Linked DNA regions of Homo sapiens: all the other regions are linked to region 7. Evidence: promoter capture Hi-C in 16 types of primary human blood cells and fetal thymus (Javierre and others, 2016). All regions are on one chromosome and are shown on one strand. The core of a region is centred on a gene start or on the middle of the fragment in contact, and the rest is flanking DNA. Distances in the headings are between cores, read along the strand shown.

Region 1 (3,598 bases), core at 1,099-3,598, 1.4 Mb before region 7:
TCTATCAGACAAATGTCGACCTCCTCAGAACTACATACATGCCATCATGTGGCCTTCCACTTCTTTCTAGAGCCCATCTCTGCTGTATCTAACAATTTACTTTGAAGTGGAAAAGCAGGAAGAGGCACACTAGATTACCTGGAGTCATTCAACACATTACACTTGAGTCTAGCACAGTCCTTTCTATAGTAAGCCCTAACTTATTGAGTTCTCCCATCCATTTTGGAGCTTTCAGTCTCAGGACAATAGCCTCTTTCTGAAGCATGAGGATGAGTTAGAATTCTCCTCCTCTGAGATCTCATAGCATCTTTCACATCCCTCTACTATAGCTATTAAGTCTCTCCCAAGTTGGCTGGAAGATTCTGAAGGATAGGGGCTACACTCAACTCATCTTTGTTGTTTGAAACAGAGTCTCACTCTGTTGCCCAGGCTGGAGTGCAGTGGCATGATCTCAGCTCACTACAACCTCCACCTCCCGGGTTCAAGAGATTCTCCTGCCTCAGCCTCCCGAGTAGCTGGGATTACAACAGGCATCAACATGACCAGCTAATTTTTGTATTTTTAGTAGAGATGAGGTTTCACTATGTTGGCCAGGCTGGTCTCAACTCCTGACCTCAGGTGATCCTCCCCACTCAGTCTCCCAAAGTACTGGGATTACAGGTGTGAGCCACCATGTCTGGCCTCAACTCATCTTTAAATCCCCAGCAACTACCACAATTGACTTGGAATCTGAAAGATAAATATAAATTCACATTCAATTTAAATGAATAATAATACAACTAAAAGAAAACATAAAGATGGTCAAGCCCAAGACCCTCAGTTTACAGAGAAAAAAACCACAGTTCATAAGGGCGAAGTGACTTACCCAATGTCACAGAGGAAAAGCAGGGTTAACTAAGACTCCCGCCTTTCAGCAGACCTAAGGACAATGTGTGGTACATAGAAAACACACAATGCTTGGAATGAAGTCCTTCCTTTAAATTAAAAAAGTTGTTGTGTAACACACACCAGAATCTCAAAATTTACTAAACTGGCAATCCCCAGTTGCAGCGGCAGTGAATACTTAATCATTAGGGAGCAGGCAGAAGCGAAGGAAGGAAAATGTATTGATTCTACTAAGGTTAATCTCCCTTGAAGTCCTCAATTACTTTTCAGGGCACAGAGAAGCCATGCTCTCAGTACCTCAAGTCAGCTTACTGTCCTCTAAACAGATTTTTTCTAAGAGCTCATGTGTGTGAGGGCTGTATTTGCCAAGCAAAAAGATGGCCTTTGCTGGTAGTGTTAAAAAACATTTTTTTTCCCTTAAAACGCAGTCTGATATTTTATTCAAACAACTTCTGATGTGATGACCTGTTTAGTTAATGGAGAAAGAACAGCCTGAAGGAAGAAAACACGGGGTTTATTTCTGGCCTTCTGCTCTCTGAAACAAAGGACAAGGCACTTTCCTTCGGCTCTCTCAGAGTTAGCCGAGTTAGAGCTCTCCACCATAAAACGCCAGGACAGGGCAAAGAGGGGGCCGACCATCTCAAACACCATGGGATTCTAAGTGGGGGCTGACCATCTCAAATACCCTGGGAGTCTAAGGGTTAATTTTGAGGTAACCTCCTACAGATGGTTTTATGGGGACAACTGAAAACTCTCTTTAAAAAAGTACGACTTGGTAATTTAAAATTTACTGGAACAGTTAAATATGTAGACATGCTAGTGAAAGAGAACAAATCAACCTGAGTATAAAGGATGAATAACTCATTTTACCTACCCTAGAGACACTTATAGTGTATAGAGAGATATTTCACAATAAACCTTTGGATGTACAAAGATCAACAGAATAAAAAAGGAGTGAAACTCTCCTTTCACTAGGTCTGGAAGAGAGAAGGAAGCTTAGTTCTTAAAAAACACCACAGAGAGTTCTGATGCATAGCCTAGTTGAAAAGCATTTCTAGAGTGATTTTGTAACCACTGTGCTGCCATTTAACGAATTTCCTCGTTTTTGACTCATAGTTAATAAATTATCACTATTAATATGCATTTTTTTGTGTACAGGTAATATAATATGTTCATCAAGATGGTAAGCTCCTTGAAGAAAAGCACCGTGGTTTATCATTCTATCTGTTTTGCTGAGACCACTTAGCACTGGGATGAGTATGGAATAGCTTGGAATGACTTTCAATGTGAGTGAAATGTCTGGCAGGAAAAGGCAGGCTTTGAGAGGCTCCCCAGGAGGGCACAGCCCACTGCTCTGAGGAGTGGAATAAATTCTTGGAGGCAGGATGGGCCAGTGAAAACTCTCTGTGCAGACCCTGGTGACATCATCTGCTAGCTACATGTCCTTAGTATCTTAATGTCCCTACATCCATAGCTATAAAATACCGTACTGGGGGCCTGACAATAAAGAAAACAACACATGGCACAGGGACATTTCAGGGAGATGGCATTTTAGGAGAAATGGAACGCCAACTCACCCGGACCCTGGTCATTTCTTACTCCCAGAGGGGATGGATTCCTGGAAAGGCAGAGTTAGGGAAAGAGAAAAAGCCATGAAAATCAAGTCCAGCAAGACTGCGGGGAAAAAGTTACTCCGCTCCTGCCTCTGACGCTTCTTCAGTCACTTCCACCCACACTCCCTCCATCAGGTGAGAGGTGAAGCATTTTCTGTCACCACCTTCATCTCTCTCCACAGGGCTTTCGATTAAACAAGCCAAGTTTTCCCCCCAAAACCAAGAGGCTAGGTAAATTCCGCAGCCGCCGGCAGCTCGAAGCCGTGCCCATTTCCTCTGACTTTCCCGATCTCTGTCCTAAAGTTCTAGTTAAGAGGAGAAGCTTCTCGGGATGGATTTCGGTTGCCCAAGACGCCTTCCCCGACCTCATTCTCAGGAGCCTGGCTCGTTCCTGCGGTGCGGGGGCTCAGATGCAAGCTCTTTTCAGCGAAGGCAGTGCTGCGGACAGAAACCTCAGTCTCTTACAGGAGCCCCCGTCCGTCGCCTAACGTCCACCGAAAACCCCCCTGCAATAACGCCCGTCACAGGCGAGGAAAAGGCCGGCGTGGCCAACCACGAAGCCCCCAGCCGGCCCAGGCCAGAGCTCGGCCAGGAGGGAGGAGGGGCCATCGGAGGCGCGGCCGCTCAGCTGCAGGGCCCCACAGGCTTCGGTGTGGCCGCAGCCCGGCCCCGGGGGCGCAGCAGCTCGGAAATGCGGCGCCGGGACACACGTGCCGCCGCGGGCCGCGCCTCCGCTGGTCGCGTGCCCTACCATCGCCGCCCTCCCGGCTTCCGCAGCTCGGCGGCCCAGCGCCTTACCCGCGGCACACCCATTTCCTGACCCCTGAACGCCTCTGCCAGCGGCTGGGGAAGCCCGGCCAGTCTCACCTCCCACGTGGAACCCCACGCCTGCAGGGGCCAGATTCCGGATGCTGACCGCTCGCGCGCCTAGGGCCCCGAAATACAAGTCCCAGCAAGCCGCGGGCGAACCACGCCCACTTCCGGCGCGGGCCCCTGAACTCTGCGCTGTGCGGAGCGGGATTCTTGGGCGGAGGGGACCATCTTTGAGTCAGCGACGCGTGTATTCAAGTCCTCCTCCTCGTTTTTTATTACAAACAAAT
Region 2 (3,683 bases), core at 94-2,593, 1.4 Mb before region 7:
GATTATCTCCACAATGCCCACCATATCATCGAATACCAGACCAAGTTTCTTACAATTATCTACTGTAATGGAGTTAATTTTGCCCTTGATTTGCAACATCGTGTTGACACACTTGTATATGTAAGCCGCCTGTTTCAGCTCTGTGTCATCAATCACCAGATTGGAAACATTTTCCTGATTTTCCACTCTCCACTTCTTGCCCTCCAGTTCAAGTACAGCTGGCTCCTTCTTTGTGGCTGGTTTGGGGTTTAGGTGCAGAGAATGGCTTGGGGCCACTGCGTACTGGACCACTCTGAGCCTTCAGGGTAGGGTTCTTGTGAGTCTTCATGTCATCAGATACACGTTTCAGGGCATGTGTGATGCTCTCCCCCTGATTAATCTGCGCAAACAGTGCTGAGAGGGAAGCGGACTCATCTGAGCCTGAACTGACAGAGACTAGTGGAGGAGGGGGGCCTGGTGGTGGGGGAGGAGTAGCTGATCCAGCAGAGGGTCCAGATGGCAGTCCACTCAGTTCTTTTGTCACAGGCCCCGTTTTGCTCCAGGCAGTCCGGTGGTATGGAACTCCTTAATGTAAGCCTGCAGCTCTGTGCATATACTTAAATAAGCTTTGACTCAGTCTACATGCTTCTTATCCACATCTTTGTACTCTTTAAGGACTCAGTTTGTATAAAACACAGCAGCATGATTCATTTCTTTCACATAAGGGCCAGGATTGGGAGCCATAGCCACCCAGCCTAGGGCCTGGATACTTTCACTGACAGCTGACAGCTGATTAAACAACTTGCTGCCTCGGTTCTTCTCCCAAAAGGTTATCACTTCTTTGATCTGCTCTGAGATAGGTGCCAACAGATCGGAAAGCTTATTACCTGCCGGCTATTGACACTGAGAAGCTGTAACCAAGAGAGCTCACTCCAACTTCAAAACTGTGTGTACCATCTCCACATCTTTCTGCACGTCTTCCCCAATCTCTTTACTGATCTTCAAGTACTCTGCCACAGGGCAGGCAAGCAGCGAGTCAAATGCCTGCGCATATGGAGCTGCTCCTGCTTTTGAAGGACTATCTCCATATCCACGGTGCATGTCAGAGGTATGGGATACTGCCTCCAGGCGGCCCACTGCCCTGTCCAATTTTTTACCAGATTTTGCATGTCAGTCATAATGTATCACCTCCCGACTGCGATCAGCCGCTCTCCACTTCCCGCACCTTCACTTTTCAAAGATTCCCAGGTGATGCCAACCTGCTCTGCGGATGGAGCCCCTAAGACCCCAAGCGGCCCAGACTACGTTTCCCAGAGGCCTCCGCGGCCTCAGCCACTTCCGCTTCCGGTCCAGCCTGTCTCCGCGTGGTGCGAGCGCTGCACCAGCCCCTGGCTGGTGGTTACTGTCCGAACGGCGTGGTGTGGTCGCTGACTCTCTGGGCGTGCAGCTCCGCAGCCCTGCCGGCTCGGTTCGGTTCGTGAGCGGCCGGGGTCAGGCTGGGTCCCTGAAGCCTCGAGCCCCTGGCGGGTGCTCCCCGCCTTTCCCAGGGGCGGGTCGAGGGGCGAGCCGGGGTGGGAGGGGAAGGCGGCGGTGGGCAGTGCCCACCCGCAGTGGCTGCGCCGTGTGGAGCGACCGCTCGAGGCTGGTGCATCACAGAGCGCTCCAGCCTTGCGCCCCGGCCGACAGATTGGGCCACTGACAAGGCCGTCCCCCGGTGCTGCCAAAAGTGTTTGGCGTGGAGCTGGCTGCAGTCCAGGCCGGATCCCAGCAGCCGTTCCCTTTCCTTTCTTCCCGAGCGTACCCACCTGGACCTGTCTGCCCACCTGTGGAGGGAACGGGCGGGCGGGGACCTGGTCTAGAGGGCAGATTCTAGCTAGGCTAGGGCACGGAGGGACTTCCTCAATTTCCTCTCTTCTTTCCCAGATTGACTTACGCAGGATTCTCAGCCCTTGCCTGGGAGAACAGTTCAGGAGACAGATGGCCCCAAGAGCCCAGATCCAGGCAAGTTTGATTTTTCCATTTCTTGAGAAACCACGTGTTTCAGCGAGGTGGGGTTTATGCCTCTTGCCCGGACAATGCCCTGCCCTGTGTGTGGACAAAGCTACCCGAACCAATCCTGGATGGGTCCCGCGATTTCCGTCCTGTCTACCCATTACGTAGTCATTCACCAAGTAGATTATTGCTACCCATGTTTTCTAGAGTGCTAGAAACAGAAAAGTGCTTTGCAAACTGGCAGACGATGAAAAAAATACACGTTAGCATGTAAAGACGTAGGCCATAAAGACATAGGGTGATAGCAGTGCTCTCTTGACCTTTAGTGTGTGGTAGGGTGGGAGGGGTGGAGTAGTGGGCGCCTTAGTTCTTCCTGAAGAATAAATGAGATTTGCATAATTGCAGAGGATACTAGGGGAAAGCGCTGCCTGAATGAAGTCATTATGGCGGGACCATGAACAAACTGGTCTGAGAAAGTTGGAAACATTCATGGTCTAGAATCCCAGACTGGAGTTTGCTTTTATCCTGGAGAAAACTAGGTTTTGAAGGATTTTGAGAAGCTGATTAAATAATTGGTATTTTGAAAGGAAGTGATAAACATTTGAGTGTCTATTATACAAATAAAATTAAAAAAATTAAAGATCACCTACATTTCTACTGCTCTAAGTCAAGTAATTTCATTTGAAACACACTTTTCATTTTTTTAAGGCTTACTCATTTTTTCTTTTAGTATTTCATAGCCATTCCAATTTGTTCTAGTTTCATTACCACTTTTTGTGGCTTCCTTTTATACTGTGCCTTCAACCAGCCCTGGGACCTTGAGCAAGTTCTTCCAACTCTCTGAACCTTTGTGTCTTTAGCTACGAAATAGATTTTACTTTATATAGTTACGGCAGAAATTTAGAGAGATGATATGTATCTCAGGGTTTAGCACCGTGGCTGGTACATAGTAAGTTGTTACTCTTATGAAAAGCAATTTTTTTTTCTTTTTTAAAAATATTCTGCCCCAGAGTCAGATCATACTCCCTGTAAATTCTCGGATAAAGCTAATCACTTTCCATGTCTTTTCAAAGTTTCTATTCATTTGTTGATTGAATAAAGCTTGAACACTTCTGTGTCAGGCAGTGTTTTTGACTGGGAGGCAGCAGTGACCCACACTGTCCCCCTGGAGCTCACATTAGAGAGGATGCTGACAGTCAGTGCAAACCTCTCCTGCCAGGTGGTGAGAAATCCTGTGAAGAAAAGTGAAATGGGTTTCGAGACTGAGTGGCAGAGGATGGGGTGGAGAAATAGAAGACCTTTTTGATGAGGTGACATGAAGGGTGGAGTGAGCAGAGGCTAGGCCTGGAGGAGGGAGCAGGACAGGCATGCAGGAAGAACCTGCTCAAGGGAGGAGTCGCACATCCCCTGAGCCCTCAGCTTTTACTTGTTGGTTTCCATGAGCACTGTTGGAACTGTCAGAAGCTGGCTTTGACCACCTTGCTTCCTTCTCTTGGGATGCCTCCCTCAGGGGTTCCCGGATGAGCAGAATTGGGTTTGGTTTTGCAGGGACCGCTGACATTTGGGGATGTGGCTGTGGCCTTTACCCGGATTGAGTGGAGACACCTGGATGCTGCTCAGCGGGCCCTGTACAGGGATGTGATGCTGGAGAACTATGGGAATCTGGTGTCTGTGGGTGAGGATGGCTTTCTCCTTGACTCAGGATTGGTCTG
Region 3 (3,372 bases), core at 476-2,975, 1.6 Mb before region 7:
GTTCCCGCGCCCGGGGCGGCCTTGGGGGGAGGGCGAGTCGGGTGCCTTGCTCCTCAAAACCCTGGTCCACGACTCTGCGGTTGGGGGAGCCGGGCAGCCGGCGCAGCAGGAGCCGGGCCCCGTCCACAAGTTTCCTACGAGCAGGGCGGAATCGACGAAAATACTTAATACAAACAAACAAAAGGAAAAAAAAAAGGACGACTAAGCTGAAGAGCGCGCACGAGTCAGATTTTCACCCCAAATACAAACACGATACCTCTAGGAGCAGGAGACCAATACAGGGACCGCGCTCCGAGGACACGCGGCGCAGCCGAGGAGGAAAAAGGGCCCGGGGCCGAGAGCTAAGGCTACGGGAACCGGGCGTGGGAGGAGGGCGGAGCCAACTCCCCACAAGGAAGTCTTGTGCAACTCTCAGGCGCCTGCAGCCACGTGAGCGCGCGGCTTTCATTTTACTCAGGTATTATTACTATTATTACTTCTTTTGAGACAAGGTCTCATTTCCGTCGCCCGGCTGGAATGCAGTGGCACAATCACTGTCACTGCAGCCTCGACCTCAGAGCAAGCGACCCTCCCGCCTCAGCCTCCCGAGTAGCTGGGACAACAGGCGCGCGCCACCACACGTGGCTAATTTTTTTTTCTTTACTTTTCAGTAGAGACAGTCTATGTTGCCCAGGCTTGTCGGGAACTCCTGGGCTCAAGAGATCCTCCCGGCTGGGCCTCCCACTGCGCCAGGCCTGTTCTCACTTTCAGAGCCCTCCGGCAGTCGCCAGCTCCCCGCCAGGGGGCCGGACTAACGCACCCGGCCGTCCGTGCCTTCCCCGCGCTTTCCTGACTCCAAAATCTCAGCCCGCGGTGCTCACCGCGTGGGACCACTGTCTGGGCGTGCGGCTCTCGACCTCCGACGCTGCGTCTCCCGATCCCAGTGGGTCCAGTTCTTGCCGGTCCCACGTACGGGCCCCTCGACCTCGAATCCCGTCACCCAAATCTCAGCGCCACGGCCCCTCATTATGTGCAGTCCTCGCTCGGTCCCAGGTTTGCGGCGCTTAAACTCAGATCGCTCTTCCCTGATCCCAAATCCCAGCCCCAGCCCAACGATCCCCACCCCAATAGGCCCAGTCCCCAGGTAGTCCGGGTACGGGGCCCTGGACTTCGGATAGTCTCCCTAATCTCAAATCCCACCCCCCGTCCCCACCCCCAGGGGGACCCGGTCCCCGCTAGGTCCCGGGTGTGCGGCCTTCGACCTCGGAGACTTCGGCCGCCCCTCACCTCGGCCTCCGAGTCTCTACACTCCCGCTCTCATATCAGGCACCCCGGTGGTCCCTTGGAGCACCTAGAGGAGGGTGGGACGCGGGGAACTTGGCAGTTGTAGCAGAGGCAGTTGAGGCTTGTTGACCATCACCATGGAAACCCCCGCCTGCGAGCACGGGGCGGAGCCTACGAGGGGCGGGGTCAGGCGCGCTGCCGGCCCCAATCCTCAGCGCCTGCCCGTCGAGCGCACGCGGCTTTGCCGGAAGCCCTCCTGCTCCCGGCGAGCCAGGCCCCGACTAGGCCCTACTGCCCGGCTCAGCCCTTTGCCCTGGACACCAGGAAACAGAAGCCCAAGGAGCCCGCGTCCCCACCCCCTGCTACCTGCCGGCGTGACAGCGATTCGGTGGCCCCCCGAACCCCACCTTGAGGAAGACGCGGCGCAGTCCTGCTTCCACGACGGAGCCGGAAGGACGCAAGGACCGCGGCAGGGCGGAGTTTCTGCGTCCGGCGTCCGGGGGCGGGGCCGCGACGGCGCATTGTGACGCGCCAGAGCTGAGCCGCCGGTTGGCCGGCTGGGCGCGGAGCAGAGCCGACACGGCTGGCGGGGGAGGCGGTGGAGGCGGACAAGCGAGGACGTTTCTGGAGAGGAGAAGGGAGGGGAGGGGAGGGGATAGGGGGAGGGGGAGGAGGAGGAGGGAGTGGAGCGGCGGGAAAGATCCCTCTGACTGCCCCTGAGGCCCTGGAGGAAGGACACTGGTGAGCCCCGCAGGACACTGAAATGTGCGCCGAAAGGACGCCTGATGGAAGACTAGGATGGGAAAAGGAAATGAGAGCCGATGGCAGGGCGTGGTGGCGCAAGCCTGTGGTCCCAGTAATTTGGGAGGCTAAGGCGGGAGAATCGCTTGAGCCCGGGAGGTCGAGGCTGCAGTGATCCGTGACTGCTCCATTGCGTCCAGCCTGGGCGACAGAGCGAGGCGCTGTCTCAAAAAATAAAATAAGGAAAGTAGTACACTGAAGGCCGGGCGCGGTGGCTCACGCCTGTAATCCCACCACTTTGGGAGGCCGAGGCGGACGGATCAGGCGGTCGGGAAATCGAGACCATCCTGGCCAACATAGTGAAACCCCTACTAAAATACAAAAAAATTAGCCAGGCGTGGTGGCGCGCGCTTGTAGTCCCAGCCACTCGGGTGGCTGAGGCAGGGGAATCGCTTGAACCCGGGAGGCGGAGCTTGCGTGAGCCGAGATCGCGCCACTGCACTCCAGCCTAGCGACAGAGCGAGACTACGTCTCAAAGAAAAAAAAAAAAAAAAGGTACACTGAGTACTCCGGAGACCGCCTAAAGGGGTCTCAGAGCAGGGCGTTAGGAGGGATTTGTCAGGTTGAAGTTGCTCAGGTGATAAATTCCGTGGTGTGAGAAGCCCCCAAACCTCAGAATGTAACTCAGACCCAGGTCGAGGGCAAGATTTTCAGTCACAGAGCACCTGAACACACAGATTTGGTGGCTAATGGCTAAGCCAGGGACAGATTTTCTTTCTTTTCTTTTTTTTTTTGATGTATTGTAGGGCTAATAATTGTAACCATTTTATTTTGGTGGATCTTCTTCATGAAGAGATGATGTCAAGGCACTCATCACAGGTTAAGCTGAACATTGTTACTATTGTTATTATTTCCAGACTGAGTATCGCCCTGTCATTCAGGCGGGAGTGCAGTGGTACAATCACGGCTCACTGCAGCCTCGACCTCCTGGGCTCAAGCGATCCTCCTGCCTCAACCTCCTGAGTAGCACCACCACTCTCGGCTAAATTTTGTATTTTTTGTAGAGGCGAGGTTTCGCTGTGTTGCCCGGGCTGGTCGGGAACTCCTGGACTCAAGCCATCCGCCCACCTACGCCTCCCAGAGTGTTGGGATTACTGGATTGAGCCACGCATCTGGCTGAACGTTATTTTTTAAATCACCAGAGAAAGTAAAGGAGTGCTCAAAATAGTGTCAGATGATGAGTGGGATGATTGTGATGAAGGAAGGAGTTTGTTAAAAGAAAAAGCTAGTTCCAAGAAAGAGAATGGAAAGAGTAAAGCAGGAGCTGTCAGAATAGGTAAAAATGTCCAAAGAGAAAACTGCATAATT
Region 4 (3,766 bases), core at 722-3,221, 1.3 Mb before region 7:
AACTGTTTTTAAAAATAATAGCAAGATATGGGAGTTGAGGGTGTTTGCAAGCAGGTGATTGATTCAAAGAGGGACCATATAATGTAAGCTGGTAAGGAAGGTTGAAGAGTAGTGGGAGAGTAGCAGGATCCATGAATTATTGATGCAGCTGACAATTTATTGGCTTTAGTTCACTAGAGGAAGTGAGATGCAAAGACAGGAGTTGATAATCAGAAAATGAGATGATTAAAATTGAGACCATTGTTGGATTAATAATGCAGAAGTTACAAATATGATCATGGATGGAGGTGAGTGGCTCTGGTCTTCTGGAGAGGAAGTTCATTGGAAGTAAGGAGGAAAAGTGATGAGTCATTTATAAGCACTCCAAGTGTGATGACAGTAGAGCTGGAGTGAGTGATAATGATACAGGAACTAAAATCTTCAAGGGGTGACCCAGGTGATAGATGATTGCTGCAAAGAGGAATAATGTGTACAATGGCTTTAAGGCAAGAGACTCAACGTTGGAGTTAAGAGGGAGGGAGAGAGTATTGCCTTGAAGCAAGCAGAGACAGGGTCACAACAGGCTATAGTCAGGATTATATGAGATGTTTGTATAGGCAAAACCCCAAGAAACTTCCTGAAAGGTTACGGTAATAGTAAAACAAGTTTTTCCATCACATCTGTAGCTTGTGTTGAATGAGATGTATTGATTACAGTCGCCATCTCGGACTATGGCAAAGCTAGGGAGGTTAGTGGCCTGAAAACATAAAAGGAGTATAATCAGTAAAATCAAGAAAAACTAGGCAGGCTGGCCAGAATTACTGGGAAGAGATAGAAATTAGAAAACAAGCAGAATTGTAGAGTGATTTGCATTCTTTAATCAAAGGAATGAGGCTCTCTAAGAGTAAGGTGAGATTCAGCACTGCAGAAACACAAGTCTTGGTCATGGCTGGATTGTACATTCTGTTGTCACTAAGTCCCTGACCCTATGGCAACGACATCATAATGACCCCAAATGCAAGTAAAGTAAACAAAATCAGGGCAGGGCTACAGGTGATCTGGTGAACTGGACTTGGTGGATGGTGTGGAAGGGACTTTGGGAGAGACCTGTGCCCATGATAAAAGGGAAGATGAAGATGTTCCTTTGAGTTTGCATGTGTGGGGCCTTTTTGGCATGGTTGACTTGTCTGTACTCCTTCCTGTGACTTGACATCAAAATTAGGTAAGAAATCATGTATTTATTCATCCTTGTTGACTTTTCTAGTTTTCTGTGGCATTGATTCTTGAATGGAAGCCCTAGCAATGAGGAACTTGGCGTGGAAAAGGAGGACAGACATGCACTGTCTCAACCCCCTGTGTAAGGAGTAGGGTAATCCAGGCCACCTGCTGCTTGGAATTTTCTTCCTGCTCTTTTATTGCCCTGAAGGGAGTTTTGGGTCTGCCTAGAGAGTCTGGTAGGGTTGAGAGTCAAACTGTGCAGCTGGTAAGAAGAATGGGCTGTAGGCTTGTTAAAACACAGTGTGCTGTCTCTCCCTCCCTTTTCCGCAATCTCCGCAGTTTCGGGGTCAGTAGGTCTGGGATAGGCCCTGAGGATTTGCATTTCCTATAAGTTCCCAGGTGATGCTGATGTCCTCAGGAACCACTAGGTTGGATTTATATGTATTTCTGCAGAAGAATGTTTTTGATACCGTGGAGGATACACCCCAAGTGTTATGGGTTCAATTCTGTCCTCCAAAAAGATATGTTGAAGTCCTAACTGCCAGTACCTCAGACCATGTCCTGCTTGGAAATAGGATCTTTGCAGATGTAATTAGTTAGGATGACATCATAGTGGCATAGGGTGGGCCTTTAATCCAATGTGACTGGTGTCCATATAAGAGGTGGAGAAATGTAGAGACACAGACACATGGGAGAAGGCCATGTGATGGCACAGGCGGAAAGTGAAGTCCTGCAGCTGCAAGCCAAGAGCGCCAAGGGTTGACAGCAAACCACCAGAGCTAGGGACAGGCAAGGAGGGGCTCTCGCTACAGTTTCAGAGGGAGCACGGCCTCGATTTTGGACTTCTAGCCTCCAGAACTGCCAGATAATAAATTTCTGTTATTTAAGCCACCTGGTTTGTTGTACTTTATTATAGAATCCTTAGAAAAGTAACACACTAAAGTTACCTTCAATGGGTCACGCCCTTGTGTAACCTCTCCCTTTGTGGGAATAACCAGAGACTTGCCTCTGATAGAATATGGCAGAGGTGATGGGATGCCACTCCTATGGTGGTTATGTTATATAAGACTCTGGAGACTCTCAGCAGACTTGGAAGATAAGCAGACTCTTAGCAGACTTGGAAGATAAATTCTCTTCTGTTGGACTTGAAGAGGCAAACTGCCATGTGGTGGCAGAGAAGTTTAAGTGGCCTGCAGGACCTCAGGGCAAACTTCAGCTAATAGTAAGAAGCTGGGACCCTTAGTACTACAGCCATCGGGAAATGCATTGTGCCACCATCTGAATGGGCTAAGGAGGGATCTTCTCTAGTTAAGACCAGATGGACACGGCTTGGCTGGCAACCTGATTTCAGGCTGGTGAGACCCTGAGCAGAGTTCCCAGCTTGGCCCCTCCTTAACTTCAGAACCACGCAAAATTGTGAGATAATGTATTTGTGTTTTTCAACCTGCTAAGTTTGCAGTAATATGTTACTAGAATGTAAAGATAGATACGTTTATTAATGAAAAAAGAAAAACTAAACTTCCAAACGATGTGTATAGAGTGGTCCTTTTTTGTTTAAAAAGAATGAAATAAGAAAATATGTTCAAATTCCATGGTTTGTGTAAGTATATATATCAAATAGTATATAGAAATACACACGACCAGTATACTGTGGTGTGTGTGTGTGTGTGTGTGTGTGTGTGTGTAACTTTGGAGTGATGTTATTTGGAATGATGTAACACTTGGGATTTTGGAGTAGGGAGATTATTGGCTTTTTTAAGTATAACTTTTTCTTTGGAAGTGGTAAGGAGCATGTTTAGCTTTAATGGGAAAATCAGATAAAGTTTATTAAAGAGAAAATTAATGTATGTTGTTGGTCATTTTTGGTTATAAAAATAATGTATGTTTATTATAGAAAAACACAGAAACAAGAAAATAAAAGTTTATTATGGCCCTTTTGGCCAGAACCACCGTCTTCCAGTAATTCGACAAAATGACAAACACAAAGGGAAAGAGGAGAGGCTCCTGGTAGATGTCTTCTAGGCCTTTTAGGAAGCATGGAGTTGTTCCCTTTGGTCACGTATATGTGAATCTATAAGAAAGATGATATTGTAGACATTAAAGGAGTGGGCACTGTTCAAGAAGGAATGCCCCACAAGTGTTATCATGGCAGAACTGGAAGAGTCTACAGTGTTACGCAGCAGGCCGTCGGCATTGTTGTAAACACACAAGTTAAGGGCAAGTTCTTGCCAAGAGAATTCATGTGGGTATTGAGCACTTTAAGCGCTCTGAGAGCTGAGCTAGCTTCCTGAAACTTGTGAAGGAAAATGATCAGAAAAAGAAGGAAGCCAAAGAGAAAGGTACCTGGATTCAGCAGAAGTGCCAGTCTGCTCTGCCCAGAGAAGCGCACTGTGTGAGAACAAATGGGAAGGAGCTTGAGCTGCTGGAACCTCTTCCCTATGGATTGATTCATGGCATAATCGGTGTTAAAAAAAATAAAATAGAAGACCTCTGGATTGTAAAAAAAAGAAAATTATGAGCACCCCTCCAGAAGATAAACACTATGTAATCCTTGCTTTTAACAGTTCAC
Region 5 (3,871 bases), core at 504-3,003, 1.8 Mb before region 7:
ACACCCAGAGGGAGAGTTTGAAAAATGCTTATTGGACACGTAACCTGGCTCTAATTTGGGCTGTTTTTCAGATACACTGTGATAAGTTCTTTTACAAATATCTATAGACATGGTAAACTTTTGGTTTTCAGATATGCTTAATGATAGTCTTACTAAATGCAGAAATAAGAATAAACTTTCTCAAATTATTAAAAATGCCTACACAGTAAGTGTGAATTGCTGCAACAGGTTTGTTCTCAGGAGGGTAAGAACTCCAGGTCTAAACAGCTGACCCAGTGATGGGGAATTTATCCTTGACCAATTTATCCTTGACCAATAACCTAATTGTCTATTCCTGAGTTATAAAAGTCCCCATCCTTATTAGCTCTACTGGAATTTTCATACACGTAAATGCAGAAGTTACTAAGTATTAAGTATTACTGAGTATTAAGTAGTAATCTGTCAGTTATTAAAATTTGTAAAATCTATTTATGAAAGGTCATTAAACCAGATCATGTTCCTTTTTTTGTAATCAAGGTGACTAAGAAAATCAGTTGTGTAAATAAAATCATGTATCATAAAATGTGTAAACTTTTTTTCTTTTTAACATTCTAGTTGGAAACAACAGATTTCTGATTTTGTAGTTTCCATACAATATTTAAAACATCACAAAGAATTCTATCATGATAACCACTGAGGCATCAATAGTGGTCGAGGACTAGGGGCTCTGGAGATATCGCTGGCTTATCTGGTACATTTGCGTGTGAATAGGCACATTGATAGAAACTGAAAAACTCAGCTAACTCCACTGTTCAAGGAATCCCTTCCTTAAAAGTGTCCATCCCTAGAACAAAGCAGCAGCCAGTGTCAAGTTTAGGTCTTCACAGTTCTCTAGCAATTTGCTTGTTGCTGATCTTTTGAAGTTGGCCTTAGAGCTGTGGGAGACAGAATACAAAATGCCAAGTCCTGAGGAAGGCCATTAGAAGTGTGAGGGAAAATGCTGTCCTGAACCACCATGAAGCCTGACATACTCACTACTTCTGTTTATGTCTTCCCCGAGGAATTCTCTGAGCTTCTCATGCCGGGCGTGGAGCTGATGGGTCAGTGGGCAAACGGGAGTTGTTGTCAACATCAGTCTCATCTGCGATTGCATTGTGTCAGATGCCAACGGCCTGTGTCACACACATACACGTGTGTATACGTGGGCCTTTGCACGCCTCGCCAGGTGGTGTACATGCAGGCCTTGGCACGCCTCGCCCAGTGCCCGCCCCAGGCCCATGAGGCCCCGCTTCCCAGCCGTGGGTGTCTGTGTCTGCTCACGGCTTCCTCCTTCAGCCTGGACCACGGGCTGGAAGTGAACGTAATCTCCAGAGCCAGCTGTTTGCTGTAGCCTTTACCTCTGAAAGTAGAAATCTACGCCAAGAAAAGTTAATGCTAAAAGCCACCCCTAATGTAGACTCTACATTAGGACTATTTGTGTGTGTATGTTTGCTGTTTTATTTTCCCCTAAAAACACATTTTCTGCCAACCTTCACGAAGGATTTCTTCCCACCACGAGGCCAGCTTATGTGGGCAGAAATCTAGTTGAATGTGCCTGAGAACAGGGCTTGAACAAATACTTCATACACAAAAGAAATTTTGAAGGGAAAGCATAATTTCTAACATATAAAGAAAGCCTCTCCCGCAGGCAGGTGGAGCAGTTAGCGGTGCCTCTCTCTGCCTCGGGTGCGTTCACGCATAGTGTCTGGCACACCTTGTTTTATTGCTCTTTGCTTTATTGCGTTTTTCACAAATTGAAGTTTTGTGGCAACGCTGAGTCGTCGAGAAAGTCTATCAGGGCCATTCTTCCAACAGCCCACACTCACTTCATGTCTCTCTATCAGTACTGTTAAGCAGTAAAGAATCTTTAAACCAAGGTATGTACATTGTTTTTTAGACATAGTTCTGTCACACACTTAACAGACTCCAGTACAGTGTAAAGTGTAACTTTTATATGCACTGGGAAACCAAGAGACTTGTGTGGCTCACTTATTTGGGATCTTCAATCTTCTTTGCTTTACCGGAGTGGTCTGGAACAGTATCTCTGAGGTTCGCCTGTGTTTAGTGGTCCTCACAACTGGGGGGTGGTTCTAGGAAGTCCTAGGGAATCCTAACCTCTGTGGCCCTGAAAAAGCAGAAAGGTGGGTCTTCAGGGTGCATGCAGCAGTGTGCGTGGCCCCACACGTCTTCCACATGAAGATGCTCCAGGTGCAAGTCCTAGGCTTGTGCGCCTGCAGGGAAAGCACCCTCTCTGCCAGGGCTCCTGCTGTGGCCCTGTCCCTTCTCCATGGCAGCAGCCTTGACCGAAACTGTGTAGAGTCTCCCACCTCTTCAGGGAGCTGGGACTCAGGAAGGATCATCTTAGCTGAGGTCATAAGAACCTGCATGTAGAGAACTTTTCAGCGTGGGGCCACTACTGTGTCCTGCTGCTGAGGCCAGGTAGTGGCCGTCTGAGGGCTGCAAGGGCAGGCTGCTCCCAGGAGTTAAGGAGGCAAACACTCTGAACACCCTGGAGAAATCACAGTTTATCTTTGCAACTACAAATTTGAGTGCTGTGTCAAGTGACCAGGTATTTTTGCAGATGTCTCTGAGGTGTTAAATCACAGGACCTGGCCAAGCAAGATCTCTCAGCTGGACCCCGGGCAGGGGATCCTTTATGGGGGCACATCTCACTGTGGGGGCTGCAGAAATGTGAAGGTCATCATGGAGGGAGCTTGCGGTCTGAAACTACCCCAGCCACTGTGACTACCACACTGGGAGAGATCATAGACCTGCATCCTCTCAGATGACACTGAGCAGTTCAAGCTAAAAATGTGCTGGTAAGCAAGGTAAGTGAATTCTAAAGCTAAAAAAAATCATTTTTCATTTTCTGAGAAGGAAACAAGTTTGATATTTCATACACAGACAATATTTACCATGCAGACTGTCAATTTCTTGAATAAAAATATGAAATTCATTTAAAACATTCAAGTTTTTGTGTATTTTTCTCAATGTATTAACAGAAGAGCAACCTGTTTCTTGGCTGCTCGATTGTCTCACCTGCACATCAATCCTTTTCTATACTCTCCCATGGAAGAAGGGGTCTCCAGGGGCAAGAGACTTTGGTCAGAGGACTGCAGGGAGCCAGGCAGCACCCATGTCTTGGAGCCTCCCCTCTCCCTAGGGCGTGTGCCTTGCTCCATATTTTGTGCCTTTCTTCTGGGAGTTTTCAAGAGCTTGAGAATTTTCCTGGAGACTCTGGCCACAGGGCCTGAAGCTCTTAGATTGCTCAGAACCCCATGGTAAAGGAGCACACTGAGGGTTTGGGGGACTTCAGTGTCTGGGAAGAAAAGTAAGATCATAGCAAATGATTTCTAAAAATAAGAATGACACCAAGGATGGAAGAGCTGTAGTGTCTCACAAGACAGTCACTGGAAAAAGTAGAGGAAGTGTGGTTGGACACTATTTTTAAAGAGATATTCACACAATTACCTCTAATCTTTAACTTTGTAGAAATAAGCAAAGGCTACCCATATGAGAACCCACAGGAGCCACTGGTTCTGAACTTGCTATAGCAAGAGAGTCAGCCAGGATCACTTACTTTTGGCAGACACTCAAAAGCAGGCAGAGGAGTGGGAAAGCCTTATAGTAAAAAATAAAAGGTGGGGAGGGTGAGGAGAAGCCTTCAGGGATGCTGTGATTGGGGCTTGTTGGCCTGGGGAAGCTGGAGGCAGCTAACCAGGAGGAGGGCCTCTTATGTGATTGGTTTGGGGGACACAGGTGGCTTTCTCTGTTTAGTTCAGTGGGCAAAAAATAGGGAAGCTTGCAGTTCCTGACCAAGTCCTAACCATTCTGGGATAATTGTTACAGAGGC
Region 6 (3,728 bases), core at 1,211-3,710, 1.3 Mb before region 7:
CAGAAAAAGTTCACACAGATGGTGTGGAGTGATGGAAAGGGAAGAAGGAGGTGGCAGATCTACTAAATGATTAAGAGGAAGGTTGCGAGGACCCATGTTGGGGGGAGCATGGGAGGTGAGGGAGCCCCTGCCCCATTAGTGGTGCCTACCATGGACACCTGCAGAGTAGGCCTAGCTTTCTGTCTTCTTTCTCTATTTGCTGTCTTTGGATGAGTGAGCCACATTCCATTTGCTTCCATCTCTTACTAAGGGTCAGCCAGGAAATCAGACCAGTTTTGATCCTATGGTTGTTATCCTAAAACAGTATCAGTCTCATTTAAAATATATCTACAATTGGCAACAAACACACAAAACTTGGTCTGCCCTTTATGGAAGCGTAAGTCTTTAATGATTTTCGGTTTCCCTCTGTCCAATTTCCCACCTGTTTCTATTCTTTATTGTTTAGTTTGTGATCTTAAATGCTGGTTTAAAATGATGCTAACTTACTCTCTTTTCCTGATGGGAGTGTGTGTGTGTGTGTGTGTGTGTGTGTGTGTGTGTAGACAGAGAGAGAGAGAGAGAAAGAGAGAGGGGTTGCATCTAGTTCACTTGGTTCATCAGACTTGTTAGTAATATATCCTCTCTTATTGCAGTTTAGTGATTTTCTTTAATTCTTCATTCCTTCCAGTAAGTGGTTTTGGACTCATCTAGGGCTTTTTGTTTGTTTGTTTTAAACGGCAATGTTCTCATTCACTACTCAACAATTTGCATGAAACCATTGCATAATTTTGACACACACACGTAATACACTTGGGATAATATTTTCAGAAATGGCTTATTTGGGTTTGCCTTTGCTCTTGAAGCTGGCTATTCTGAATGTAACACTTGTTGATCCTCCCAAAGATCTGATGCTTATGATTGCAGAGGGGCAGCTTGATGCTACCTTGCTTCACGTTCATTTAATCTGACTTTTCCACCAATCTACCCTAAACTCCTTTGAACAGCAAAGACAGAATATGAATTAATGCTATAATTAGCACTATGTCAAATTATGTCTGAATATGAGAAGGGATAGGAGATAAATATGAAAATGTAAAAGATAATTTGAGAGCAGTGAGATGAAGTGTGAATGTTTGCACTTAAAAATTTTTATTCTTTGCTGTTAAAATAGTGTTTATGCAAAAATAATTTAGAAAACCATAAAAATCCCTGAAGAAAGTCTGAGAAAGAGGTGCAAGGAGAGAGGGAGAATTTCCAGCTTCATCAAAACTGTGTGCAGATGGAGCCTCTGCAGGTTTGTCATCCCAGCAGTGATGTGGACAACACGAACACAGCAGAGGCAGCCACTGGTCTTTAACGGCACCACCAGCCCATCCCGAAGTCCATCAGAGGCACCTGTGAATCCACAGGTTCAGCGGACACTTATTTCCTGGGTGCCTATGCCATGGAGGCCCTCTTCCTAGTGCTCTGTGGATGCTGGTGTGGGCCCCTCTCTACAGCTCTAGGAAGCAGGGGTCTTAGTCTGTTTTCTGTTGCTTATAACAGAATACCTGAAACTGGGTAATTTATAAAGAAAAGAAATGTATTTCTCACAGTTCTGGGGGCTGGGAAGTCCAAGGTTGAGTGGGTGCATCTGGTGAGCATTTTTTTTTGCTGGTGGGGACTCTGCAGAGCCCAGAGGTGGTTCAGGGCATCATATGGCAGGGGGCTGAGCGTGCCATCTCAAGTCTCTTTTCCCTTTTTATAAGCCAACAGTCCTACTGCATAACACATTAATCCATCAACCCCTTCATCAATCCATTAATCCAGGAATGGACTAACCTATTCAAGAGGGCAGAACCTTCATCACCCAGTCACCTCTTAAAGGCCCCACCTCTCAATACTGCCATATTGAGGATTAGGTTTCAACATGAGTTTTGAAGGGAGGAGTATTCAAATCACAGCAGCAGGGACCATTACTACCCTCCTGAGAGAAGGGGACCTCATGGGGGCCATAGTCAAGGGCTCACCTCCTGCTGCCAAGCTGGGAGGCTGCATCACCAGCCCAAGTGGCCCGGGCCCCGGGGTTCACGCTTCTGATTCTGGACTCCCTGTCCCCTAACCATCCCCCATCCCATCCCTCCTTCACTCCCTGGGCTCTACTTTCACGAATCCGCTGTCCCCTCCTCAGGCCACAGCTCTTTCCTCAGCAGACATCATCCTGCCTGTTACAGAGGAAGTGGGCACTGCCGGGCAGAGCCCCAGCTCTTCTGCACCACGTTCAAGAAGGCAGGCACCACACAGGCAACCTCACGCCTCCTTCGGAAGCAGATGGAGTTTTTTTTTTTTTTTTGCACAAGGTTACTCTAACCTGTTTGTCTTCTTGGGGTAACTTGTTCATTCATATATGAATTGTCACCCATTCTATCAAACAAATAAAATCACCATGACAATTGCTATTTTTAGGCACATTTTAAAGCTATAAATGAGATCATGTTAGTTAATAAAAATTATCTCCTCAGTTAAATGGGTATTAATTACAATTTCCAAAATTACAGCAAACTCTGAACCCTCCTTTTAGACTGGCTGGTACCATCTGTTCTAGCTAGGTATTATACTTTACTTAGCCATTCCCCTGCTGTTGGACATTTAGGACGTTTCTAATTTGAAATTTAACATTGGGTGGTTTTCCAAGTATTTATGTATATATGTATTGGTGCTGATTATGACGACGTCAAATTTCTCTCCGTCTCTGCCTGCCGGCTTCAGCTGCGGCCCCTCCTCTCGGAAGGTTCCTCAGGAGTTCTCCTGTCCAGTTAGAGGTTTTGGGGTTTCCTCCTTACGCTGGTCTCAGCGACTTCCTGCGGCTCAGAAGCAGCACAGGCTGGACCCAACCCCTGCCTCGGAAAACCACTGTGCTGATGCGCCAGCAGAGGGCCGAGAGGACAGCCGCGGCGGAACCCAGGGGCGACAGTTCCCTGGGGCCAAGGGGAGCCATGTGGAGCCCGGCCCAGGCTTGGCGCCCAGGCTCGGCCGGGCTGCTGTGCGCGCGGGGAGTCCGGGTGTCCACTGGCCCGAGCCAGGGTCCCGCACTTAGCGATTTCCAAGCGCGACTTAGACGTGGCCTAGTGGGTGTTTTTCGCTGATGGAAACGCTGGCCGGGACTGCCCCCAGCCTCCGCGGAGAGTGGGAAGCTCCCAGCAGGGGCGCGGCGGGTGCGCTCCGGGGCCCTCCCCACTGCGGGGCTTCATCATACGAAAAACCTTTGGAAGGGCCTGGAGAGCTTTGGCCTTTGTTTCGTGGGCTGTTTACTGACTTTCGCTCCCAGTTAAATCTTCCAACCCGAAGACATCCTTCTGAAGTCAGCAGCACAGATTACACCTAAGGGGAGGCGACTCGGCCTTCTTCCCTTCCCTTCCCTTCCCCTCCTACGGCAGGTCCCGCTGGCGGGAGGACGCCCCGCGAGTGGGGTGGGCCGCGAGCGGGAGGAACACGCACGTCCCGGGGCGGCCGGAGGGGCCCCGCTTGCGCAGGGGGTTGTCAGAAGACTCGCACGCGGCAGGAGGCCTGGCCGTGGGTGCAGAGTTCCCAGTAGGACGCCCACGAAAAAAACCTAACTCCCATTATGTTCTGTAATTCTAGTCTAGCCCCTATTTCATGCTTGATAGAGAGCAGTCGACCCCTTCTTGGTGAATTCTGCCAAGTTAGTCACTTCTCAGTCATGTTAATTAATTGTTTTAGAGACAAGGTTCTGCTCTGTCGACCAGGCT
Region 7 (3,369 bases), core at 827-3,326:
TCTTTCCTATCTTTCTTTTTTCCAAAGAAGGAAATGGACATTGGCTGGCAACCAACAGTATCTGTAGCCTCCACCATAAGTGAGCTGGAGACCACACCCAGTTCTACTGAACCCTGAAAGAAAAGGTGACCCCTCCTTCTGAGGGGTCTGACAATGGACCCTCCCCTTCTGAGGGGAGGACGCTGACAATGGACACCTGTGTCTGATGTAAAATGCAAGCACTCACAGCCATAAAAGAGAATAAAATCGTGTCCTTTGCAGCAGGATGGATGTGGCTGGATGCCATTATCCTAAGCGAACTAATGCAGAAATAGAAAAGCAAACACCACATGTTCTCGCTTACAAGCAAAAGAGCTAAATATCGGGTTCACCTAGACATAAAGATAAAAACAATAGACACTGGGGACTTCAAAAGTGGGAGGGAGACAGCGGGGCGAGGGGTGAAAAACTTCCTATTGGGTACTATGCTCACCATCTGGGTGACAGGATCAATCCCAAACCTCAGTACCACACAATGTACAATTGTAACAAACCCGCACGTGTATCCCCTAAATTTAAAATAAAAATGGAAATTTTAAAAAATGCAAGCAGTAACACCAACTGCCCAGGAGTGCTGGGGGAATTGCATGGGATCCCCAATGTAAAGCACTAGCATAGTGTCTGAGCCCACAATGGGTGCACAGGACACATGGGGTTGCTGTCCCAAACCCAGTCCTCACTCAGAGCCAGTCATGGCCCTGTGAACAGCATTAATTAGGTCAGAGAGAATGATTCACACTCGAGTTCTGGAGAGCCCAGGGAAACTGTTATGTCACCCTGGTGCTATGTTTACTTCTCCTATCAGGAGTGATTAAATTCTTAGGATCTCATGCTCAGAGGTTGACAGTTATATTGAATTTTACCCACTTTTAAAAAACCTTTGGAAGCACCCGATTATTTGTCTCAGCTTTGATGAGGGCTGTGGAAGAGCAAATGTGTCATGACAAGTCACCAACCACAGGGAGCCTCAGAGCTGTCAAAGGATGGGCCATTCTCCAAAAATTCAAGCAAACGCAGAAACGGGAGGGCCCCTGGACTGGGTATCTTCAGTCCTGTCACTTTTTGCAGGTGGGGGTTCCAACATAAGTCATACAGCAGCCATACAAGCATTAGCACAGCCCCTCTAAGTCGAAGTTCAGGGACCCATGAGACTCAAATCCCAGGCTGATTTTGGTGCATATGGCCACCTGCACTTTCTAGAAGATCCATATCAGATTCTAAAATGGCCATGAGACCCTAAAAATATTAGGAAACGCACACTGAATGAAACTAAAATGATTTATGTTAGGGGTGGGAGAGAACAGGTCCAGAGGTCAGAGCTGGGAATCGTGAGGTAAAGCAGAAATTGCAAATGTTTTCCATCAACCCCATCCCCCACCTTGACACCCCCACACCCCAGAAACACTGAACTGTTCCCAGTTCCCCAAATGGCTTGTGGTTTTCTGTCCTCTCTGCCTCCGTGCTGGCAAATATTCGTCCAGGAGGCAGTGACTGGGAGAGAAAGACTAACTTCTTATTCACCAGATCGGATTTCTTAAACAATAAGGAGTTCTAAGAGGCCATGCCAAGCAAACGGCCAGACTGTACAAAGGTGCCCCTTGAGCAATAAATAGCAAATGCTCTGGGCTTTACTGATAAGCCTCCCCAGACTCCAAGCCCCACCAGGCATGCAGACAAGTGCCTGCAGTGATTGCAGCGCCTGCGCAGCGGCCCTTGTTGGAAGTCCAGGAGTCCGCGCTACCCCGCAAAGTCCCTGGCCGCTGCCCGCACACCGAACCTCTCGGGGCTGAGTCGGGCTGCTTTCTCCTCGCGTCCCGGGGCGCCCTCGGGAACTCGGGAGCGCGCGGCGAGCTGAACAATGGCCTGGGGACACCTGGCAGGTCGCAGGCCCCAAATCTTCCCCGCCGCCCCTAGGCCACCGCCCTGCACCCGGAACCTACCGGCGTTCCCAGAGCGGGGCGGACGGGGCGGTGCCATTGGCCGGTGCGGAGTGAGGGGCGTGCTCGGGGCGGGACGGAGAGACCGGGGCGGCACCTTTGGCCGTGCCGGGCGAGAGGCGGGGAGCGGGGCGGGGCGAGGGGCGAGGGGCGGGGCGAGGGGCGGGCCTGGCCCCGAGCAGCTGAAGCCTGGGGTCAGCAGGCGCTGCGGGCGCAGCTCCGGTGCAAGCGAGGACACGACACATGCAGTGGCTTCTGGACTGCGCGATGACTGGACGGTGAGTGATGAACGAGCAGGAGAGTGCTTGGGCGTCCATGGAGCATCCCCTCCGACCCAGGACTGCCACCAGGCAGGGACGCTGAAGCCTGGGCACTTGTGCCCTTCGGCCGCAGCGCGCAGGGTCCCTCCCCCGCCAGCCTGGCGCATTGCGGGCCTCGGGCTCATTGCTGAGAGGGGGCACTGCGCCTGGCACCTCTGTTAAGCAATTTAGGGGCTACAACCTGAGCAAGACAGATGAGCCCGGCCACTGGCTACACCTTTTTTGTTCACCTTGTCCTTAACCAGTTTCCTAGAAGCACTGATCCTAGAGTTGGGGAGAGAGCCTAGAGGCCTCTGGCACAACTCTGATTTCACTGATGGAAATCGAACGCCAAGATAATAGCAGCAGGGGGGGTCTGTCTCACAATCGCTGTCTGTAGAGGGCTCGCCTTGCTCTGGGCCAAGTGCTTTAACACGATATGCCTCTTACTCCTCACAGCAAGTGAGAGTCCTACTTTCGTTATCCCCTTTTCAGATGTGAAAACTGAGGCTTAAAGAGTTATAAAATTGTCCACCTTTACCGGATGAGTTGGTGATGGAGCCAGGATTTGAACCCAGGGCTTGTTGTGCCCCTGAGTCTCTTGCTCTTCACCCTTAGTCTCCGAAGGTCAGCCTGCCTGCTGCCCTGCTCTTCTGGGCTCCTGACTCCGGTCCCATCCTGCACTTCCCACTTCCAAAACATGCCTCAGTGTTTTCATTAACCTGGCACGGCGGAGGGAGGGAGGCCTCCTCTCACACCAGAATCAGTGCCCAGGCCAGGGCCAGCACTTTCTTAAAACACAGTAAGGACAGCTTCAGGAGCCCCATTTCACATAGGAATTAAATAAGGTCGCACAGCAAATAAGGGCTGGGCTTCTGGAATTTGAACCCAAGCAGGTTAGACTCCAAAGCTATGCTTTGCACTCACAGAGGAGCCCCTCGCTGGCTTTGCTGTAGTTTAACTGCCCACAGTACTAAGGTGTCAATCAGGATTTGTTGCCAGAAACCATTTTTTTTTAAGTTAGAAGTGAATTGGTGAAGTAACAGGTAAATGTAGACCATCCTGCCTTCTGTTCCTCTGTGTGGTTCCTTAGC

Evidence for each region. The method cuts DNA at HindIII sites, captures the fragments that hold promoters and counts their contacts. A CHiCAGO score of 5 or more calls a contact.
Region 1: a fragment that was not itself captured here is called in contact with the fragment with the promoter of TMEM72-AS1 in region 7 in 4 of 17 cell types (naive B cells, non-activated CD4 T cells, activated CD4 T cells and 1 more); the score reaches 10.4 in naive B cells.
Region 2: the fragment with the promoter of ZNF485 here is called in contact with the fragment with the promoter of TMEM72-AS1 in region 7 in 2 of 17 cell types (activated CD4 T cells and non-activated CD4 T cells); the score reaches 7.7 in activated CD4 T cells.
Region 3: a contact is called between the fragment with the promoter of HNRNPF here and the fragment with the promoter of TMEM72-AS1 in region 7, in 1 of 17 cell types (M0 macrophages). The highest score is 10.0, in M0 macrophages.
Region 4: a contact is called between a fragment that was not itself captured here and the fragment with the promoter of TMEM72-AS1 in region 7, in 1 of 17 cell types (total B cells). The highest score is 7.7, in total B cells.
Region 5: a contact is called between a fragment that was not itself captured here and the fragment with the promoter of TMEM72-AS1 in region 7, in 3 of 17 cell types (M0 macrophages, M1 macrophages and M2 macrophages). The highest score is 8.2, in M0 macrophages.
Region 6: a contact is called between a fragment that was not itself captured here and the fragment with the promoter of TMEM72-AS1 in region 7, in 1 of 17 cell types (total B cells). The highest score is 6.1, in total B cells.

The regions. Positions count from the first base shown.
Region 1 is chr10:43,571,175-43,574,772 of GRCh38, forward strand. It overlaps ZNF239 (zinc finger protein 239), which reads right to left and starts at 3,442. Exons shown (of 4, transcript NM_001099282.2): 1 at 3,366-3,442; 2 at 2,463-2,503. RefSeq lists a silencer at 3,165-3,224. The HindIII fragment of the contact is 940 bases long and covers 1,879-2,818 here.
Region 2 is chr10:43,605,095-43,608,777 of GRCh38, forward strand. It overlaps ZNF485 (zinc finger protein 485), which reads left to right and starts at 1,344. Exons shown (of 5, transcript NM_145312.4): 1 at 1,344-1,452; 2 at 1,903-1,980; 3 at 3,520-3,646. The coding sequence starts at 1,957. It also overlaps the pseudogene CAP1P2. RefSeq lists an enhancer at 1,050-1,099 and a silencer at 1,380-1,659. The HindIII fragment of the contact is 2,214 bases long and covers 857-3,070 here.
Region 3 is chr10:43,407,461-43,410,832 of GRCh38, forward strand. It overlaps HNRNPF (heterogeneous nuclear ribonucleoprotein F), which reads right to left and starts at 1,726. Exons shown (of 4, transcript NM_001098204.2): 1 at 1,671-1,726. RefSeq lists silencers at 1-65, 1,346-1,465, 1,916-2,145 and enhancers at 236-295, 436-485, 453-1,056, 496-835, 1,566-1,625. The HindIII fragment of the contact is 6,154 bases long and covers 1-3,372 here.
Region 4 is chr10:43,627,778-43,631,543 of GRCh38, forward strand. It overlaps ZNF32-AS3 (ZNF32 antisense RNA 3), which reads left to right and starts at 1,040. Exons shown (of 5, transcript NR_038867.1): 1 at 1,040-1,201. LOC124902416 (a long non-coding RNA gene) reads right to left here and starts at 3,707. Exons shown (of 2, transcript XR_007062132.1): 1 at 3,541-3,707; 2 at 3,005-3,268. It also overlaps the pseudogene RPL21P88. The HindIII fragment of the contact is 5,917 bases long and covers 1-3,766 here.
Region 5 is chr10:43,129,790-43,133,660 of GRCh38, forward strand. RET (ret proto-oncogene) reads left to right here. Exons shown (of 20, transcript NM_020975.6): 20 at 1-562. Among named protein-coding and RNA genes, the nearest start is that of CSGALNACT2-DT, 6.7 kb to the right of the region's middle. RefSeq lists enhancers at 545-1,145, 1,146-1,746. The HindIII fragment of the contact is 4,128 bases long and covers 1-3,817 here.
Region 6 is chr10:43,664,521-43,668,248 of GRCh38, forward strand. The region is part of intron 1 of ZNF32-AS3 (ZNF32 antisense RNA 3); the gene reads left to right. Among named protein-coding and RNA genes, the nearest start is that of ZNF32, 18 kb to the left of the region's middle. RefSeq lists a silencer at 2,798-2,977. The HindIII fragment of the contact is 8,678 bases long and covers 1-3,728 here.
Region 7 is chr10:44,957,613-44,960,981 of GRCh38, forward strand. TMEM72-AS1 (TMEM72 antisense RNA 1) reads right to left here and starts at 2,077. Exons shown (of 8, transcript NR_033842.1): 1 at 1,980-2,077. It overlaps RASSF4 (Ras association domain family member 4), which reads left to right and starts at 2,190. Exons shown (of 11, transcript NM_032023.4): 1 at 2,190-2,254. RefSeq lists an enhancer at 1,869-2,163 and a silencer at 1,941-2,160. The HindIII fragment of the contact is 10,910 bases long and covers 1-3,369 here.